Regions from separate parts of the Homo sapiens genome. Here region 2 is linked to region 1. The links are contacts of gene promoters, found by promoter capture Hi-C in blood cells and fetal thymus (Javierre and others, 2016). All regions are on one chromosome and are shown on one strand. The core of a region is centred on a gene start or on the middle of the fragment in contact, and the rest is flanking DNA. Distances in the headings are between cores, read along the strand shown.

Region 1 (4,467 bases), core at 1,961-4,460:
GGGCAGATCGCTTGAGCTCAGAAATTTGAGACCAGCCTGGGCAACATGGCAAAACCCCGTCTCTAACGCTACCCAAAATACAAAAATTAGCCGGGTGTGGTGGCATGCGCCTGTAGTTCCAGCTATCTGGGAGGCTGAGGTGGGAGGATCACTTGAGCCAGGGAGGTGGAGGTTGCAGTGAGCTGAGATCGCCCCACTGCAGTCCAGCCAGGGCGACAGATCCAGAACCTGTCTCAAATACATCATACATACATACATACATACATACATACATACATACATACATACAGGGAGTCCACAGACTTTTTCTTTCTTTTCAGTTGCTCTCTCCCTTTTGGCCTCCTTGTTAAAAACTCTACATACGTTTTCAAGTAAAACCTTCTAATTTACCCCAACAGATGAACCTGCTCTGGATTAAGCCAGAAGCAAGAGAGAACCCTGCTAGACCAGCCATTTCACCAGCTCCCTAAAATGCAGCTATATTTGGGAGACTTCTGTGTAGGAAGTAAGGCTAATAATGCAGTTCCCAGAAGATTAGGTGTGGTTTTAATGAGCTCACACAAGGCGGGTGGGGAGGGGAGTGGTTCCATGGTTCTATTTTTAAAACTCGTGTAAAGATCATCCTTTGTTGTCTAAACACGGCAGTAGAGAAAGAGACGTCTCTGTTTCTCACGTTACAATCAGAGGTAACAACCTGTGCTAACCTGGTTTCCAGCGAAAAGGCCAAAAGTGTACTGATAACTTCGGCTTCAGCTGAGACTGGGATAACCCGCTTGAGCCAGTGCCAAATTCCACCCATCCGGCGCGCAAGCGAGCGGGGCTTCTCCTCCCCAACCCCGGCCCAGGCTGCTTCTGCCGGGTCAGTGCTGCCGGGTTGGTGGAAGCTGCCTTCCCTCCCTCCAAGATCAGAAAGGCGGAGGGTTCAGGAAGGGGTTCTCCTCTAGGTGCAAGGGACTGCCTGGATATTTGGAGGGAATGGCAAAGCCCTGCTTCATGAGGTGAATGAATATAAATTAAATCGCTCTCGTATTTAAAATAACTTGACGGATGACAGTGCCCATTCAGTCAATCGGCCCTCGACGTTGGATTTGCTACCTGGGCTTGTTGTCTGCGAGTTAAGGTCCTGCAAAAAGCCCCTGGCTTGTCACCTCAACTAACCTATCTCCTCCAGCAATTCTCTCAATACATCCTCGGGTTGTATTGTAATTCATTTTCCATAGCAGAAATGTGGAGGGCTCTAGAGAAGGTACAAGGCAAATTTTTTTTTTAAATTTTATTTTTGGTTGGCCGCGGTGGCTCACGCCTGTAATCCCAGCCCTTTGGGAGGCTGAGGCGGACGAATCACCTGATATCGGGAGTTTGAGACCAGCCTGACCAACATGGAGAAACCCCATCTCTACTAAAAATACAAAATTAGCCGGGCGTGGTGGCGCATGCCTGTAATCCCAGCTACTCGGGAGGCTGAGGCAGGAGAATCGCTTGAACCAGGGAGGCGGAGGTTGTGGTGAGCCCAGATCGCTCCATTGCACCCCAGCCTGGGCAACAAGAACGAAACTCAGTCTCAAAAATTTTTTTGTTTTATTTTATTTTTTAAATTTGAGACAAGGCCTCGCTCTGTCGCCCAGGCTGGAGTGCCATGGCGCAATCATAGCTCACGGCAGACTCGAACTGCTGGGCTCAAGGGATCCCCCTACCTCAGCTTCCGAGGAGCTAGGATGACACGCGTGAGCCACCATGCCTGGCTAATTTTTAGATTTTTTGTAGAGACGGGGTAGCTATGTTGCCCAGGCTGGTCTCCAACTCCTGACCTCAAGTGATCCTCCCGCCTCGGCCTCCAAAGCGCTGGGATTACAGGCGTGCGCAACCGCGCGGAGGCAATCTAGAAACTGCAGAGGGAGCACGGACCTGGGCACTGGGAAGAATAGGGCGTGGACTTGGAGTGTGACCGCGTTTGAATCTGGGTTGTGCCTGGGACACCCCACCTCCTGGGCCGTAGGTGGGGGGGGAGAGAGAGAGAGAGAGAGAGAGAGAGAGAGGATGTCGACCTTACATGGCTCCTAGCTCTCCGCGCTCTAGCCGAATGCCTGGTTCCTAGTGGGTGCTTGATACGTGGGAAATGTAGGGGGAGGGGGTGGCGGGGCATTGGGAATGTCCCGCAGAGTGGATTTCGGGAGAGTGGCGCTTTTCTCTAGAACTCTCTTCCGGTTACACCTGGAGTAAAAGCTTGACACTCTAGAAGGAAAACCCCAGATGAGCAGCTAGGACTGAGGGTTAGCGGTAGGCGGGAGCGGGGAGATAGTACAAGTACGCTTCCTAATGAGGCGGTGCCGCAAAATAACCAATTTTAATAAAGACTGCAGAGAAGAAAACCAGGTTCTGCTGGCGGAGTGCACAGGCTCCCAGCCGAGCGCCCAACAACCAGGTTCCGGGCCCACCCTGCCGCAGCCTCTTGGAAATCTCTAAGTTGGAATGTGTGCGTGCGCACCACGGGTCACTGCCCTCTTTGTGTGTGAATTTGAAGCGAAATCTGGGCGAGGCGGGGCCGTGCTACTAGCAATCGGACCCACAGTCGCGGTTCCAAGAAGCCCCGAAGCTTCCCCGGCTTCCCGCAGCACTGCTGGGAGGGCACACGGCGCCTCTGTCCCCACCCCAGAGCGTGGGGCGCGCGGAAAAAGGTCTGGTGACTGCCCTCCCCGCCGCCCCCCGGGAGCGTGCCCTCCCGCCGGACCCTGGGACTCCAGAGAAGCGCCGAGGGCGCGAGTACACTAAGATATACGACCTTCCCTGGGGACCGGGAAGGGCACAACCACCTCTTGCAACTCCGCCACTAAGACGCCTTGGGTCACCAGGCCCGGGGGAAAACTCGTCCCCGTCCCAGGCTCTCGATTCGGGCCGCAGCTCACGTCCCGCGCTCCTCCCTGCGCGCCGCTCTGCTCCTCCCTAGTCCCGCCTCCAGCTCCGCCCGGGCGCCCAGAGGGCAAATGAGGGGCGGCGGGGTGGCGGGTGGGGGGGAGACGCGGAATTTCCCAGCGCGGGGGCTCTGGCTTACCCTGCAACCGGGCAGTCTCTTTCTGTTTACGGAGAGAAAGGGGAAATGGAAAAGTCGGGGAGGCGGTGGCTGGCGTCCGCTGCGCCGCCCCTGGGCAGGCTCAGACGCCGTGAGTCAGGGGCAGAGCAGGGCGGTCTGAGCGTGCGGGCGACGCGGGTCTCACTCGTCCGCTCCGCTCTGGACTGCGCGCCACGCTCTGGGGTCCGGCGCCCTGGTTCCTGCTTCTGCCGCTGCCGCCGCCGGATCCCAGTGGCCCGGCGTGCTCGGCTCCCACAGGCCTGCAGCCAGCATCGCACCGAACCTTCGGGGGGCCGCGGCTGGAGCGCTCGGCCGGCGTGGGAGCGCCAAGGCCGCAGGTAATCCAGGGTTGGGGGTCTCCGGCGTGTCTTTCGGGTCGCGTCCCGCCTGGGTGCCCCGGGGATTCCCATGCAGAAATGGAGGGTGCCCCCAGCAGAGGGGAAAACTCTGGCGTGGGAAGAGGTGGGGGCGTGCCCACAGCTGCGCTCGCGGGTCGCCGGCTGCACCAGGCACAGCTGGAAAGCACCTTGCGCAAGGGTCTCACGGGGTGCAGACTCGCGACTCCTCCCCCTTCCTCCTCCTTCCCGTATCCGCAGCGCCAGGGCAGTGCTGGTCTGGGCAGTGCGCGGGGAAGCGGGGACCCGCTGTCACTGCGCCTCCCGCTGCCGACGCCGCCTGGACGGCCGCACTCTCCCTGCCCGAGACCCGGTGAGTGCAGCTCGGAGGCTGGAGGACCCGATCCTCCCAAATGCTGGGTGCTTTGATAATTTATAAGCCTTTTAGGCTCCCTTGACTTAGAGAACCAGGAGGAAAGGAGTGGGAGTGTGGGTTGGCGGAGCCCAGAGACTTGTGAATGGCTGGAACTAAATTCAAGTTTGTAACCCGGACTCTATCCCATGACTAAAGAGGTCATAGCAGAACACGAAGGCTGGGCTTTTGGTCTAAGAAAGAATACTAGGAGAAAAAAAAAGTTATTTTCACGGAAGTTGTTTTCGAGCGATAGTGCATGATCAGGACTCTGAAATTTTTCTAGCTCTGGGCGGAGAAGGACGCCTAGGGATTGTCTCCATAGTTAACAGGGGAAGGCCACCGGCTGCCTGTAAGAGAGAAACGTTGCGATGCTTGTCTATTTCACTTTTGGGAAGACAAGATTAAAGGCTGCTCTTGATAAAAAACAGGGACAGAAAGGCTCTTGCAGTTGCTTTACATACCTGTGGCCTGAGTCGTTTGTGCCAAGGAGAGTGTAATCCACTTCCAGCTGACGCCCCCAGCTCTCTGCGACGGATTGAGGTTTGTGTGCAGGACGTCTGGCATACGGCCCATGAGGACTTTGTCGTGTAAAGCAAATGGGAACGTTGAGGCATGTAGAGGTTTTGAAGCAGAGTGTCGGTCCTTCCTTC
Region 2 (4,859 bases), core at 1,003-3,502, 1.5 Mb after region 1:
GTTTTGCCATGTTGCAAAGGCTGGTCTCAAACTCCTGAGCTTAAGCGATCCGCCTACCTCGGCCTCCCAAAGTGCTGGGATTACAGGCATGACCCACCATGCCTGGCCTATGTTACTTCTTGTATTTGCTTTTGAAGTCTTTCATTTATCACTCTGATTAAATAAATGGCTATTATTTCTCAATGGCATGCAATTCTACTTTAATTAAATATTTTAAGCCTTTAACATCTTTGCCACTTTCCCAAAACCAAATTCTAATTTAAAAGTTTTTTTAACCTAAAATTGACTTTGGGATTGTCCTTTGGGCCTCTGGAAAACCTCTGTAATCTGTGTATGCTCTGAATTACAATTCTGTGATTCCCAAATAAAATGCCTAGAGATTCATCTCTATTTTCTTTTGACTTCAACATAGTAAAGGGCTAAGAGACAGATTGCCACCTAGAGCTTTTTTCCAAAATTATGTAGCCCTGGCTGCCTAATAGAAGAAAATTTAGTAATTGGCCTTCAAATTTAAAATGTGTAATCACCCAATCAATAATTCAGATATATTTTAATTGATAATTTGTTCTGCTGTTATCCTCTAAATTAAATATACACTCATTTTAGTTTCACTCAGGCACTAAGGAAATGACCCTAAAATTAATAAAAATCAGCAATAAATAATTTATTATTTGAGATCATTTAGACTACATGAAAAACATTTACTATTTGTCACATTTGGGCACACAATGTTTCTATATGAAACACAGCTAAGATATAAATAATATTTCTTGATTCAAAAATAAAAGTCCTTCCCTAATATCGGGAACAAGGCAAAAATTCATGCTTTTGCCACTCCTAGTCAACATTGCACTGGAAATTCTAGCAAGTATCAAACAGTAAGTACATCGGTGGAGGAAACTTTATGTAAATTTGTATAATCTGGTACAGTAGATAAAAACATCCAAACAAATTATAGTATTAAAATCCATAGGATTGGTATATTGAGGTGGGTGGGAGGATAAAAGGAGATAATATATATCAGCACATTCCTATCAAGGCACAGTTTCCCTTTTGCAATATGCCCTTGTTCTCATTTTAGAAAGAGATTACAAGGGGATTTCATGGAAAATAGTTTCAGGAGCAAAACCTGGCATATGGCATATCATAACAATAAACGATAAAGATGGTTCCTGCTCCCTCCAGGCTCTGTAATGCTCCCCGATTCACCGTCTCTTACAAGTTCCCTTAACCTACCCTCACCTTTGTGAATAGCCTATCTTTAAGTCTGTTCCCACTTAATTCATTTGAGTGGACTTCTCTCTGACAAGACCCTGACTAATACACTTGATTAACTGCTTTCCTAAACAGGAACAGTTTGGGAACACAACAGGTCTTTGATAAATGTTTGTTCAACTAAAATTAGAAGGATTCCAGGAACATCTCAGCAAAAAAGTAATAGCAAACATCCTAAGAGAAAGTGAAATGAAAAGAGGAGAACACTGTATCAGAAAGCAGCAAAGAAGGCTCAAGAGTTGCCCAGTTTCAAAACATTCAGTGAAGACATTTCAATAAGCATCAAGGTCATTGAACATTTTGTGGTGTTCGTTATGACATCTGCAAGTGACCTTCAGTACTCAATGCTCTAAGGTAATGCTCCTAAAAGATATTGCAACCTCCCAACAGTGAGATTTTTTAAAATAAAAATACAGGTTTGCCAGGAACTTCTTCCCTTGCCTCTACTCACTGATATCTCAAATCATTAGAATGGAAGAGGGAGAGGGACAGAACATCCTCTTACCTAGGCAGGTTCTTACATATGGTAATTTGCATAATCACTGGCACATGTAAAACCAGCCCCCTCTATCACAGGATGCCAGCTAATGCTTAAAAAATTCAGATTTGTGTCCTCAAATACAAGCTTCCATAACTTTAAAAAATTGTGAGAACTTTCCATTTTTATTCTAACTTTGATATTATTCATACCTTCTAAAAATACAACAAACAACATCATATGTCAATTACCATTCACTCAAAAGAATATATCTTATGGAAAGAGATGAGTTGTATCTTAATATGGCAACCTATCTAAGAAAAAAAGGATTTTTACTAATTCCTTAGATTTGCATAGCTATTGAAGAACTTTGATTACGAAAATTATTGAGGTTTTGGAAGAGAAAATAAGTCAGCATTCAGGGAACACTGATACTATAGCTGTTGATATTATCAAGACAGCATTTAGGGAGCTGTCATGGCAACCATAATTTAATCCTCCATGAGTGTCTTGGAACACCCAGGCACCCCCGGAAATGAGGAGGGTGATTCAGCGGGCGGCACACTCCTGTCCTTATGAGTCAGGAAAATACCAGTGCTCTCACTCACATTGCTGGAGGCACCATTCTATGAGATATAAAATGCAGCCACTATGTGATCTGTGACAGTTGCACAAGAGCAAAATGTTGGCTTCATTCAATATTCCTGCCAAGTCTATTTTGATTGATTTTGAGACAAATGTTCACTTCATGACTAATGCAGAGCCTTGATCTCTCATCTTTTTGTCTTTTAGGCAAATCACAGCATAGTCTTCACTTTGATCTTTGGGGTGTAAGGTCAGTGGGAAGGTTTAAAGCTTTGAACGTTTTTTTCACCACCTTACTGGTTTTGTTTGAAGGTTAGTGAGAGAAAAGGTTAAAATTAATGGCTAAAATGAGATAGTTTTAGCTTTCATTTCCTGGTATAACATCACAGATTCTAGAATTGTCAGGACTACCAAGTTTAAATCTAGATGTGCAGTAAAGCCTCTGTGCTTTGCATATTCTATAAAATCTGTGAAATCAAAGTGAACTGTTCTCTGACTCTGAAATATCTATTCACTATCCACGGTGTGCTAAGTCCAAAAGATTTATTTTAACAAAAGGAAGAGAAACAGGCAAATAACATGGCTACTTAGAAAAAGCACTAGAGCCAGGGTCACGCCTGTAATCCGTGCACTTTGGGAGGCCGAGGTGGGCAGATCACCTGAGATTGCGAGTTTGAGACCAGCCTGACCAATATGGAAAAACCCCGCCTCTACTAAAAAATACAAAATTAGCTGGGCATGGTAGCACATGCCTGTAATCCCAGCCACTTGAGAGGCTGAGGCAGGAGAATCGCTTGAACCTGGGAGGTGACGGTTGAGGTGAGCAGAGATCGTGCCATTGCACTCCAGCCTGGGCAACAAGAGCAAAACTCTGTCTCAAAAAGAAATAAAAGAAGAATAAAAGAAAAAAGAAAAGAAAAAGCCTAGAATAGCCGGGCACAGTGGCTAATGCCTGTAATCCTAGCACTTTGAGAGGCCAAGGCAGGTGAATCATTTGAGGACAGGAGTTCGAGACCAGCCTAGCCAACATGGTGAAACTCCATCTCTACTAAAAAAAAAATTGCCAGGTGTGTTGGCACCTGCCTGTAATCGCAGCTACTAGGGAGGCTGAGGGACGAGAATCACTTGAACCCAGGAGACAGAGGTTGCAGTGAGCCAGCATTGTGCCACTGCACTCTGCCCTAGGCAAAAAAGGAAGATCCTGTCTCAAAAAAAAAAAAACAGAAAAGTCCTTGCCATGTAGAACTTTCTGACCATTTTTTTCTGTTTGATTAACTTTCTATTTTGTGTGCGTGTGTGTGTGTAGAATAAGAGAGAATTTAACTAAATATATATGAAATCCTATTTCATATGGGGGAAAATATATGAAAGAAAGCAAAAGTTGTATAATAGTTAAAGAAATTGGGGGAAAAAGGTAAAACAAAAACCATCTCCCTTGGGTTTGACAGACAAATTGTGTTGGCTCTGCATCCGAGCATGTGGCTTCTCTAACACTACTTTTAATTATGTTTTTCAGCTCTTAACCAATGGAAAGTATCTACTAATACAGTTTCTAGCCAGGCACAATAGCTCATGCCTGTAATCCCAGCATTTTGGGAAGCCAAGGCAATGAGAGATCTCTTGAGGCCAGGAGTTCAAGATCAGCCTGGGCAACATAGTGAGACCCCATCTCTACACAAATAAAAATAAAAAATAGTTTCCCATAGCTTCACACAAATAAACCAAGTTGCTGCCTGCTTTCCCAGTCTTGTATGAATAAGATTCTTCAAAGTGTTGATATTGAATTTCCTTGTTGCAAATCCACATTATTTCTGTAAAGTTTCCCATGCCTTCACTTCAATGGTTAATTGAAAACAGGAGTAGATTCCCCTTTGTGATGTGCTTCTCTTAAATCACAAAGCTTCCGGAGCCCTCCTTCTTAGTGGCTAACAAATTTATTTATTCTCATATTAATCAGTCTGTTGAAACAAGATTGCATATTCTCTGTCAAACTGGTTCCACTTCATCTCGCTGACCTTCGTTCTCCTGTATGTTTGCAGTACCCCACTGGCTGATACAGAATGGGACTGCATTGCAAGTATGACTCAAAAGAGGCTTCAGTTTGATTAAAATCTGCTCTTTGATATTTACTTTTTAAACTTTTAGACATATGATGTTTTTAGTTTACACAAATTCACATTCTGTTGTCAGAAAACTTTATTTTACCCTATTTAAAATGGTAGTTATTTTCACGATAGGTATAAAATAAAAGAGGAGTTCTGAAAACAGTTTTTTTTTTTTTTTGAGATGAAGTTTGGCTCTTGTTGCTCAGGCTGGAGTGTAGTGGCATGATCTTGGCTCACTGCGACCTCCACCTCCCAGGTTCAAGTGATTCTTCTGCCTCAGCCTCCCGAGTAGCTGGGATTACAGGCATCTGCCACCATGCCTGGCTAATTTTTTGTATTTTTGTAGTAGAGACAAAGGTTTCACCATGTTGGCCAGGCTGGTCTCAAACTCCTGACCTCAAGTGATCCACACGCCT

The links. The method cuts DNA at HindIII sites, captures the fragments that hold promoters and counts their contacts. A CHiCAGO score of 5 or more calls a contact.
Region 2: a contact is called between a fragment that was not itself captured here and the fragment with the promoter of MAP3K8 in region 1, in 1 of 17 cell types (total B cells). The highest score is 6.0, in total B cells.

Annotation. Positions count from the first base shown.
Region 1 is chr10:30,430,974-30,435,440 of GRCh38, forward strand. MAP3K8 (mitogen-activated protein kinase kinase kinase 8) reads left to right here and starts at 3,211. Exons shown (of 9, transcript NM_005204.4): 1 at 3,211-3,405. RefSeq lists enhancers at 1,198-2,079, 2,751-2,890, 3,611-3,710, 4,001-4,050, 4,175-4,467 and 1 more and a silencer at 2,931-3,170. The HindIII fragment of the contact is 9,039 bases long and covers 2,592-4,467 here.
Region 2 is chr10:31,938,676-31,943,534 of GRCh38, forward strand. The region is part of intron 2 of LOC107984219 (a long non-coding RNA gene); the gene reads left to right. Among named protein-coding and RNA genes, the nearest start is that of ARHGAP12, 12 kb to the left of the region's middle. RefSeq lists an enhancer at 1,788-2,987. The HindIII fragment of the contact is 708 bases long and covers 1,899-2,606 here.